2 separate regions of the Homo sapiens genome follow, and region 1 is linked to region 2. The links are contacts of gene promoters, found by promoter capture Hi-C in blood cells and fetal thymus (Javierre and others, 2016). All regions are on one chromosome and are shown on one strand. Each heading gives the region's core, a stretch centred on a gene start or on the middle of the fragment in contact. The rest is flanking DNA. Distances are from core to core; before and after follow the strand shown.

What was found. Contacts are between HindIII fragments. The CHiCAGO score rates a contact against its expected background, and 5 or more counts as called.
Region 1: a contact is called between a fragment that was not itself captured here and the fragment with the promoter of GUCY2C-AS1 in region 2, in 1 of 17 cell types (total CD8 T cells). The highest score is 5.0, in total CD8 T cells.

What each region holds. Positions count from the first base shown.
Region 1 is chr12:14,416,462-14,421,854 of GRCh38, forward strand. The region is part of intron 1 of ATF7IP (activating transcription factor 7 interacting protein); the gene reads left to right. Among named protein-coding and RNA genes, the nearest start is that of ATF7IP, 53 kb to the left of the region's middle. The HindIII fragment of the contact is 3,683 bases long and covers 1,967-5,393 here.
Region 2 is chr12:14,661,013-14,666,931 of GRCh38, forward strand. It overlaps GUCY2C-AS1 (GUCY2C antisense RNA 1), which reads left to right and starts at 4,624. Exons shown (of 6, transcript NR_186173.1): 1 at 4,624-4,685; 2 at 4,847-5,001. GUCY2C (guanylate cyclase 2C) reads right to left here. Exons shown (of 27, transcript NM_004963.4): 11 at 1-50. The HindIII fragment of the contact is 1,745 bases long and covers 3,593-5,337 here.

The sequences.
Region 1 (5,393 bases), core at 2,558-5,057, 250 kb before region 2:
GCTTTTGCTTTAGTTTTATTTTGAAGTATACTTCATCAGATATTCATTACTTTGAATTAATACAGCATTTGTTTTGTCTATGTGTTGTATATGCTTTTTGACCCAACAATCGTGGTACTTAGTTAAGTCTGTTCTTGGAAAGCAGTACAGACCCTAGTTTATTTAATCAAAGAAACCCTACCATGACCTGTTTTTCAAACAGAGCATCTAGAGTTATATTCCTAATGTTTCCATTTCATTGTTCACCTTGATTTTCACATCCTTTGCATTTTTAATAGAGCTCTTGCCCTCATCTTCTTCCCTTGTTGCTGGGCAAGGTTTGTGACACTGATGTCTGATTGGTTTTAGACTATTTCGGCTTTGAGCCAATCAGACAGTGAATTTCAGTTCTCTCACAGGACTGAAACATTGAAGCAGCTGTTGATATATTTTTCCTGTGGGGAGATTATATAAACTAAGAGTATGGCTGCAGCAAGCTCCCTCTTGGGTATGTTTGAAAAATTACAAGGTTCATCTGTAAGGAAGGGGGGAAATGAGGTTTATTTTTAAAACTTGGTTATTAAGAACACCTAATAAGTAGTGAATTTGAGAAAAAAATTCTGATAACAAATTTTCCATTTTTATTTTATAATCCTATATTTAAAGAACTATAGAATGGTGTAATATAATAAAAATGTCTTTAATTTTCATGAATATTTACTTTGTAATCCACACATTTGTTTTATAATAAAGCTTTGAAAGGATATCTCATATAACCTTTTGTAACTTGCTGCGAAAGGCAGTTAAGGAGAAAAGGATGTAGTAATTGTACTTATACCACTTAATATAGGTTGTCCAGAATCAGACATTTAGATTTCATTAGATGAATTAAACTAAGTCAGTTCAGTGCAGTAGACAGCACAACACTTCATAATACTATCCCTAGTAATCCTTTGGGTCCAGAATACTATTAATTTTTGGAATCGGAAATCTGTAACAATAGTGGTAGATGGGTATGAAGATTTTTTTTTTACTTGTCTGGATTTAAGGTTTTGCTAGATTTATATATTTTATATGTATGGTCTATGGAATTTTTAAAAAGAAATTTACATTTGAATTTTGCATTGTATAGAAAAATATGTTCTTACGTATATTGTCCATGTTTGACTTATTCCTCAGGTAGGAAATTAATTTATATTAATGTATATTTCTTGAAATGTTCATGGATATTTATTAAAGCAAATAGCATAAAAGATGTAAATCTTATCCATTTATGTGTGTGGTATATTTAATGCGTGTTACGTGGATTTAGGGTTTTATGTAAACTGTGTTCTAGATTACTTATTTCAAACAAAGAACCACACTTAAGTATTGCAGATACAGTTTTTGTTTAACTATGTTTTTCTGACCTTATTGTCTGTCTCCTGTTGCTGGGCAGGAATCAGAATGCTGGCTGCTGATTGGCTGAGTTTGTGAGCAGCTCTTGAACAGCCATTTAAATTCTTGAGCTTTTTGAGCAGGCAGATTGTAGGCTAAGACATAACAGCTTCCCTTTGTTGTTTCATTGCTATGATCTCTTGCTAGAAAGAAGTGGGTGGAGGGGGATGAAGCAGAGAAGAGAGTAATGTTTTCATTTAAAGAAGAAGCTCGTTGGGCTTTCCTTAAAAATATTTTAAAAATAATTTACCAAAAATTTGAAAAAAAAATTTCCAAGCCAGAGAGACTTATTTGCAGGTAACATACCCTTCTCTGGTTATTTAAATATAAATTTCTATAGAAAAAGGTTTTATTAGTGATATTATTTTCCCAGAGTTCTTGAATATACAGAGACTTAAAAAACATTATTTTGACTCTCATCCTCATGAAAAAAATACTTTCAGGAGAAACTAGTTCATCATGTTTTGCAGTTACTTTTAGACATGGCAGACATCTTCTGCCGTAAAATACCAATGCTTTTTTCTGTGAAAATGAATTACAGTCATGTGAAAGCTTTCTGATTTGAGTTGCCACCTAAAATACTAACATTTATTTTATAGAATAGTTTTATGAATGGCATCTTAGTTCTAGGCGACAGTACTAAAATGATCCTTGGAAGTGTTTTGCACTGGTATTACAGCCATGGAAACTTGTTTGCAGGTAACACACCCTTCTCTAATGTGTATCTTTCTCAAATATGCTTCGCTAATGCAAAATACATTTCTAAAAGCAGACTGCTGATTGGTTTGTACAGATATGGCTGAACTAGTTTGAACTAATTGTTCGTGTTACTTCCTTATTGCTTTGTCTGTTTTTTATTATATTTAGAACCCATAAGATCTGGTAAATGGCTGTAGTGTGCTCCCTTGTGGGTATGGATGGTAGTTATTCTATAATTCTTTTTAGAGTGCTTTATTATTACTGAAGTTAATGACAATTTTATTGATAAAATCAACTTTTCTTGAATTATATATTTTTATTAAATATTATTTGGTGGTGGCAATTTAATATTAACTGTGAGGTTTACATGTTGGATTTTCTAATTTATATAAAAAATACCAAAGAGGAATTTGTCTTAGACTCTTTAGTTTATTCCTAAAAACATTATCCTGAATATTTAGTTTATTCCTAAAAACGTTATCCTGAATATATAGATGGTGATGGTTATACCATTTATTGAGTTCTTACTACATTCCAAGTGCTTAATGTATAGAATCTCATTTAGTTCTCATGGCAACCTTTGTGACAGGTGTTGGTATTAGTCCCTTTTTAAGGTAACCAAAACTAAGAAATTGATGTTAGGTAATTTGCCCAGTCTCACACAGTAGGTTTCCTGGGAGAGTTGGAATTCAAATCTGTGAATCTGTCTACAGTCTACAGAGTTCATGTTCTTAATTGGGTTATTAAAAGTGATGAATTTTTTTAAAGGAATGCTTACTTTTAATGTAAGAGTTCATGTTCTTAATTGGGTTATTAAAAGTTATGAATTTTTTAAAAGGAATACTTTTAATGCAATTGGTAATAACTACCAGCTGTCCATCTAATATCTGAGAAATGCGGATATTATGAGGCTAAAGTTCAAAAGAATGGCCTTTCAGTATTTTGAAATACTTAAAGGGTAACTATACTACTTATATTATAAACTTAATTATTTTGTAGTTTTGGAATTAGTAAGGAAAAGTGACAGCAAAATACAATGCATTGTATCTGTATCTTTTGCAGAAAATTTTGCAGTTAGCAAAACTTTGTAATGATGGGAAGGGAAAAACCTTGAAGGTGTGAAATTTTAGTCTGTAATTAAAAACCCTTAACATAATGTTTTGTATTATATTATACAAATTTTGTATAATTTTGTATTAAGGTTTTGTATTATTATATATACATTTTGTATTAAGGTTTCTGTTTAAATGAAGAGTAATTTTTCTAAATAGTTGATTTAGTTATATAATTTAAATAAAATGGCTAGAATAAGAAATATGTTCTAAGTAATTGGCTTAAAGTGAGAGAATGAATACAGAATGTATCACAGTCTAGAAATTCTCTGACAAAGTGCTAGAATCTCAAGCTGAATTGGCTTCCAGCAAGTAGGCTAGGCTTATTATTTTATGCGCTTCAGCCAAAGACCAGCAGGAACACCTTTGTAATTGAAAAAGTTAGGTTTACTATTTGCTGCAGGGAGGAAATAATGTTCACTATGGGGAAACTGTAAGGCACATCAATCAGTAAGAGGATGTTAGAAAAAACCTAGTATAGGATTTGAGTATAGTATAGGTTGGGTTATTTTGGGGAGAGATTAAGGAAGTAGATCCTTATCGTGGATTGGGTGACATCAGAAAGTGGGGGCACTTCTATTCTTGGGTATCTCAATAAATTTTATCTATATAGGGAGGACAGACTATTACAAGATAAAGCTGTAATTGATAAAGAAGTTGGCCTGGTGTGGTGGCTCACACCTGTAATCCCAGCACTTTGGGAGGCCGAGGCAGGTGGATCACGAGGTCAGAAGATCAAGACCATCCTGGCTAACACGGTAAAACCTCATCTCTACTAAAAATACAAAAAATTAGCCGGGCGTGGTGGCGGGCGCCTGTGGTCCCAGCTACTCGGAAGGCTGAGGTAGGAGAATGGCATGCACCCAGGAGGTGGAGCTTGCGGTGAGCCGAGATCACGCCACTGCACTCCAGCCTGGGCGACAGAGCGAGACTCCGTCTCAAAAAGAAAAAAAAAATAAAGAAATAGCCATCACTCATTTAGTGAGGGGGGATGTTTGGAATTTTGTGGGTTGCACAGTGACCTTGTCTGACTTGAATGTTCTCTGAGTTGGTTTTATGTCCAACCAGAGAACAGCATGGCTTAACTGTAAGCATCAGATCCATTAACAACATTGAGCCCTAACTGTGAGTATCAGTTAAGTTTCCAGGCATCAGGGGCTGCTTTTCTTTCTTTCTCAGGCCAAAGCAAATGTATTCTACCATATCATTCCTACTGGTGATGGTAATGGTAAGTGACTATCCAATGTGAAAACAGTATTCCTGCCTCCTGTACATCTTAGTCCTTAAAGCAATTTTGTTTTATTCTACTATTGATTGATGACATTGTTTTTCTTCAGAACCACATCCTTGTGCTCTTTTGTTTGCCTTTATTGCACTGGCCAGATGTTAACAAGGAAATGGTTACAGGAAACATCCTTGTTTTCTTCTGATCCTATTTCAATATCAGACATGATATCTCTAGTTTTCTTGGTAGATAACCTTTATCAGATTTGAGTAAGTTTCCTTGTATTCTTAGTTTCTGGCAAGTTGTAATTATGCATCAGTCTTGAATTTTGTCAAATGAATATTCTGTATTTGTTGAGGTAATCCTTTGTTGATTTTGTCCCTCTGTTCTGTTTATGTGGTGAATTAAATAGCTTGATTTGTTTTGTGGTTTTCTTTTTTGCTTAACAGAAGTTTATCGTCTCAGAGTTCTGGAGGCAACACATTTGAAATCACGGTGTTGTCATTGCCATTCTCCCTCTGAGGGTGCTGAGGGAAGGATCTGTTCCAGGCCTCTCTCCTAGCTTCTGGTAGTTGCTTGGCTTGTGGTACCATAACTTCAATTGTCACATGGCATTCTCCCAGTGTGCATGTCTGTCTGTGTCCAGATTTTCCCCTTTTTATAAGGACACCAATTGTATTGGATTAGGGCTCACTTTAGTACCCTTATATTACCTTGATTACCACTGTAAAGGCCCTATCCGAATAAGGTCACATTCTGAGGTACTGGGGCTTAAGACTAATATCTTTCTGGGGATGTGGGGTGTGGGATGCTGCACAATTCAGTCAGTAACATCCTGGTACCAGACATTCAGTTTAGGCAAAACTCGTAATTGTACACTCTGCTGGGCATGAAATAAAGTCAGAATGCATCATGGCTTGTTCATGGTCAACACTGCTTGA
Region 2 (5,919 bases), core at 3,374-5,873:
CACCACAGCTCCAGTGAGGGTGAAGACTGCAATCATCAGGATCTGAGGGCCTGTGGCGGAAAATGCGTTAGGAAGGACCTTAGACAAGAGAGCAAAAGCATTTCCAAGATTCTAGCTGTACAATGTAATTTGGGGAAGGGAAAAGAGAACCCTTTAAAAAAATTTATTTTTTATTAATTTCTCTCTGGTAATATAAGTCCTGTGTCCCTACTCTCTGACAGCCTTGTCTGGCATTGTACCCAGGGAAAGTGGCTTAATTTTGGCTATTCTGACAGCATATACATCTCTATTCTTTCTAATAAGAATCACCAAATGTTACACAAACATAAAATAGTTTAGAGCACGTACAAAAAAGTTGGTGGTAGAAGTCTACCTGGTGTCCTTGAAACCAATATACCTAAGAAGGGTTCATAGAGGATGAGACATGTATTTTTTTTTCTTTTTGAGACAGAGTTTCACTCTGTCATCCAGGCTGGAGTGCAGTGGCGCAGTCTTGGCTCACTGCAACCTCTGCCTCCCTGGTTCAAGTGATTCTCCTGCTTTAGCCTCCCGAGAAGCTGGGATTACAGGTGTGCGCCACCATGCCCGGATAATTTTTGTATTTTTTGTAGAAATGGGGTTTCGCCATGTTGCTGGCCATGAACTCCCGGCCTCAAGCGATCCGCCAACCTCAGTCTCCCAAAGTGCTGGGATTACAGGCATGAGCCACCATACCCAACTAAGACAACTTGTTTTTAAATACAGAGCACATGCCGGAAGAAAAGTAAGTCAGTATAGAATATTAAGTGACAGTGTTGCATGCTGGTTCTTTCCAAGCTCTCCTGGGTTAGTGAGGGAAGTCAATGAAGAATGGGATTTTATTTACTAGAACACTAGTGGGTGGGTGGAGTTGTATAGATGGAGTAAGTGGAAAGACTCTCAGAAGAGTAAGTGGAATCCAGGAAAATGTGGATCCAACCCAAGGAAGCACTGAAGCAGTGTCTGAGTATACAAAGGAATACTCCTACACAGAGAAGGACAGCAACAAGAAGACTGCACGGGAAAGTCGTGGTTCATATATGCCGCAATGAATTCCCTATTAGGAAGTCAGTAGGTTCAAGAAGAAAAAATGGAATAGATTCCAAGCAATAGACAGAATGTGTAAGAAGCTGGGAAGTGATAGGAGTATGGTGAAGAAGACATGTTTCTTTATACAGCAAGGAAAGAAAAGAGAAATCCAATCAGGAATTCTAAGGAAAAAATGTTCAAGGAAGGCATAATCCAAAAATGAAACAAAGTAAAATGTGCCCTGACTTTGAGAATTAGGTATTAAAAAAGGAGAGAAAATCAATTTTCCTTTGTGGTACAAAAGGGAGACATTGGGGCTATATAGAAAGATGTTGGCCGGGTGCGGTGGCTCATACCTGTAATCCCAGCACTTTGGGGGGGCTGAGGGGCCGATCACCTGAGGTCAGGAGATCAAGACCAGCCTAGCCAACATGGCAAAACCCCATCTCTACTAAAAATACAAAAAATTATCTGGCCGTGGTGGTGGGTGCCTGTAATCCCAGCTATTCGGGAGGCTGAAGCAGGAGAATCGCTTGAACCCGGGAGGTGGAGGTTGTAGTGAGCCAAGATTGCACCACTGCTCTCCAGCCTGGGCGACACAATGAGACTCCGTCTCAAAAAAAAAAAAAAAAAAAGAAAGATGTTATCACGGTATACAATTTAGCTTTATATAAATAATATTCACATAATGAAAATGTTTCCTTGTTTTCAACTTATAGAATCAAGTTATAGGTAAAGAACAGAGGTCTTTATTTTGGTTACCAAATAAATATTATCAACCCTGGCAAAGAAAAATATAGGAGAATTTTGGAGATGGGAAGGAGGTAGAAGAAAGAATTGTGGCACTAACATCTTCATCTTACAAAGTGGGAGGCAAGATATTTTATATACAATTGATAGGACAACACTAGAAGCTCATGCATATTAATTAAAATGAAAAAGGTGTTCAATAATTGTACCGACAAAAAAGATATAACTATATGGGAAGAAGTGAGAAAGAGGGCTAGCGAAGATGAGCTAAATCTTCATGTATCAATACAAAAAATTAATAGATAACTGCTAAAGCTTATAAATCAAGAAATAGAAGCATATTATTTAGATATGCAAAACAGTAAAAGCAGAAGTGACTGAGAGAGCAGAGATGCACAGAGGTGGGATCAGGTGCATTCACTTTCCATTATGAACACATCTGCTACTGGATTTTAAAATCATGTGTGTGAATTTTTCTTTTTATTTTTCTGAGACAGAGTTTTGCTCTTTTTGCCCAGGCTGGCATGCAATGGCACGATCTCGGCTCACCGCAACCTCCACCCTCCAGGTTCAAAGATTCTCCTGCCTCAGCCTCCCAAGTATCTGGGATTACAGGCGCACGCCACCATGTCCAGCTAATTTTTTGTATTTTTAGTAGAGGTGGGGTTTCATCACGTTGGCCAGGCTGGTCTCGAACTCCTGACCTCAGGTGATCAGCCCACCTTGGTCTCCCAAAGTGCTGGGATTACAGGCGTGAGCCACTGTGCCCAGCCATGTGTGAATTTTTCTGTGCTAAAATATAATTGATGTAGGTGCCCCGAAAATGAGGTTTTAGGACTTCTTTATGAAAGCAGAATCCTAAACCTTCACACTGTATTCTCTATCATGACACCATAATCTAAACTCCTGGGGGCACAGTCCATGTCCTACTTATTCATTCCTGTTCATCCTTACACCTTTGGCACCCAGCACAAGACCTGGTAAAGTATCAATAAAAATGGCTAATAAAAAATAATAGAAGAAAAACCTGGCCCTGGTCATCTTATTGCCTGAGAAGAGGCAAGGAGAAGGTGCTTGGACATTAAAATACATAAATAAATTCATATAGAAAGACTCCTGTGCCATTAGGGGTCTCATGTCATATGTATTTTAAAACTGTTTTTGTTTAATCATATTATGTCCTTCTGAAGTAGATGGTTTAGCTTGGGGTAAACACTACAGCTCCTTTGTATAAGGGCTGAATTTGAAGGGTTTATGCTTTGCAGACATGTGACTTTGCCTCTATTACCTTGTTTTGTGTTCATGGGAAATTTTCAATGGTGAAAATGTGAACTTTGGATTTCTACTCTCATCGGGGCAGAAATAAATTCATACTTTGGAGTTGAACTTGCATTATGGGCACATTTAACTGGTGAATTCTGTTTGTTACTACAATCACCACTTCCATCACTATCACCACTATTGCCACTCCCACCATTCTCACGCCCTAAACCCCAGAAAACGAAAGTGAGTACAAGAAATACATTTTCAACAGTGTAGATAATCCCACTCACTGGTCTATCAAAATTGCACATCCCCTAGACTAGAGTATAAACTGGAGGGAATATGGGGACTCCTCAGCCCACCTCAATTCTCTGCCTCCTACAGTATGAACATCTCACTGTATTAGATATAATTATAATATTTATATATAGTATTTAAATATACTATTTAAATGTAGTCATTTTTAATTAAACATGCTTTTCAGTTTTGCCTTTTAGATAAACGCAGTATCAAGTTCTAAATTCCAAGGTTAAGCTTCTGCTGCCTTCTGGTGGCTGCTGTAGTTATCACATTCTATTTAACTCATCTCACAATGAATGAGAGTTTATAACCTCAAGGTCATATGATATTACGGTTGGAAGGAACCTGATAAACTTCTTGATTTAACAGGGGAAGAAACTCACACTTAGAAAAGAGAAATAAATTGACTGAAATTAACAGAGTATAGATGAGTGCTGGAGTCCAGAGTAGAAATATATTCAGTTATCTCATGTTGTCATTCATTCATTCATTCATTCATTCATTTATTCATTCCAAGGCACTGTGTTGGGGCAAGGAAATATGAATAAGAATAAGCCCTGAGGGGGCGCGGTGTCTCACACCTGTAATCCCAGCACTTTGGGAAGCCAAGGCGGGTGGATCACGAGGTCAGGAGTTCGAGACCAGCCTGGCCAACATGGTGAAACCCCGTCTCCACTAAAAACATAAAAATTAGCCGGCCGCGGTGGCAGGTGCCTGTAATCAGTTCCAGCTACTTGGAAGGCTGAGGCAGGAGAATCTCTTGAACCTGGGAGGCGGAAGTTGCAGTGAGCCGAGATTGGGCCACTGCACTCCAGGCCGGGCAACACTGCGAGGCTCCGTCTCAGGAAAAAAAAAAAAAAAAAAAGCTAAGGAAAGTTGAGATTCCGGTTAAATCTTGAGGATGAGTAGATGTTTCCCACCTCTATGGAGAAGTGATAAATTCTATTCCGAGGGAGTAGCATAAATAAGGACACAGCGGCATAAATTTGCATGACGCTTTAAGGAAGTAGGGAGGAAGCTGAGAGCATGGGGAAGGGATAGGTGAGTAAAAGATAAGTAGGGAGATTACGGGCACTTTGTGCTGTATTAAGTAACTTGGACTGTATTCTGTAGGTAAAGCAGAGTTGCCAATTGACATGTTAGCAACAGTGCAGTGACATGATTGGACTTGTGCTTTCTTTCTGATAGCAGGATGGGTTGGATGGAAGTGGGCAGGACTAATGCAGGAAGTCAGTTTGACGTCATTTTTGTGATACAGGAAGCAGATGCTGAGGACTTGGATGAGGACGGGCACCAAATCTGCATTGTCCATTGCTATTTCCCAGGTGCTCAGAACATTGTCTGGCATTAAATAAATATCTTTGTTAAATAAATGAAAGAACAGGGATGGTGTAATCTCTTGGTGAAATGTTTTGTTACTTAGTAGCTGTGTACACACAGATGCAAGTTCCAGTCATGCATATCGTATTTCTATACTATTTCAAAGGTTGAGTTGCTGAAGCGGCTTCATTGTCTGGGGACATACCCAAGGTTCGTCATCGCGTGACGAGAAGATTAAGGACACAGACGCAAACACGGAGCGGGTCAAGTAGCGGAAAGTTTAATAGGCAGGAAAGAAGAGAACAGCTCACCGGTAGAGAGGTAGGAGGGCTCTGAAGGGAAAAAACCATGCTTGTGGTGGGAAGCAGTAGGTTATATAGGGAGGCTTCAGGAGGCGGTGTCTGATTTATATAGGGCCCAGGGGATTGGTTTGACCAGTGTGCCATTTACATAGCCCTGAAGAAACTGGCCCTCTCACCCTAATCTTTTATTATGCAAATGCGGCCTCTACCTGGCTGGCGCCATGACACCCACACATGTGGCTTTACCCGGCCGGCACAATGACACCCCCACACATGGCTACAAAGAAAAGGGAGGGGAAATCGCTATATTGGGTGGACCTGGCTTTTAGTACAGCTGCGGGCATTCATCTACGCAAGCTTCCAGCTTGCTTATTTATGCTTGCAGTTCAGCTTTTCAGGCTGCTTTTTGCTAGAAAAGAAATGGTTTGGAGACTGTTTTCAATTAAAAGAAAATGCCTGGCTGGGCGCCGTGGCTCATGCCTGTAATCTCAGAACTTTGGGAGGCCGAGGCAGGCGGATCACGTGAGGTCAGGAGTTCCAGACCAGCCAGCCCAACATGGCGAAACCCCGTCTCTACTAAAAATACAAAAATTAGCCGGGCGTGGCGGCAAACACCTGTAATTCCAGCTACTCGGGAGGCTGAGGCAGGAGAATCGCTTGAATCCGGGAGGCAGAGGTTGCAGTGAGCCAAGATTGCACCACTGTACTCCAGCCTGGGTGATACAGCCAGACAATGTCTCCAAAAAAAAAAAAAAAGAGTAAGAAAAGAAAAGAAAAAGCCTTACTGAGGACTCCTGTACCCTCGCTACCTGCCTAAATAATTTCTTTTTAACTCCTATATTATTGCTTCATTGGTAAAGTTTAGAGCTAAATGTAGTAAGTAACAGTTAAGTATTGAAAAGCTCTGGCTAACTGAGGTTGTTAGTTAACTGAGGCT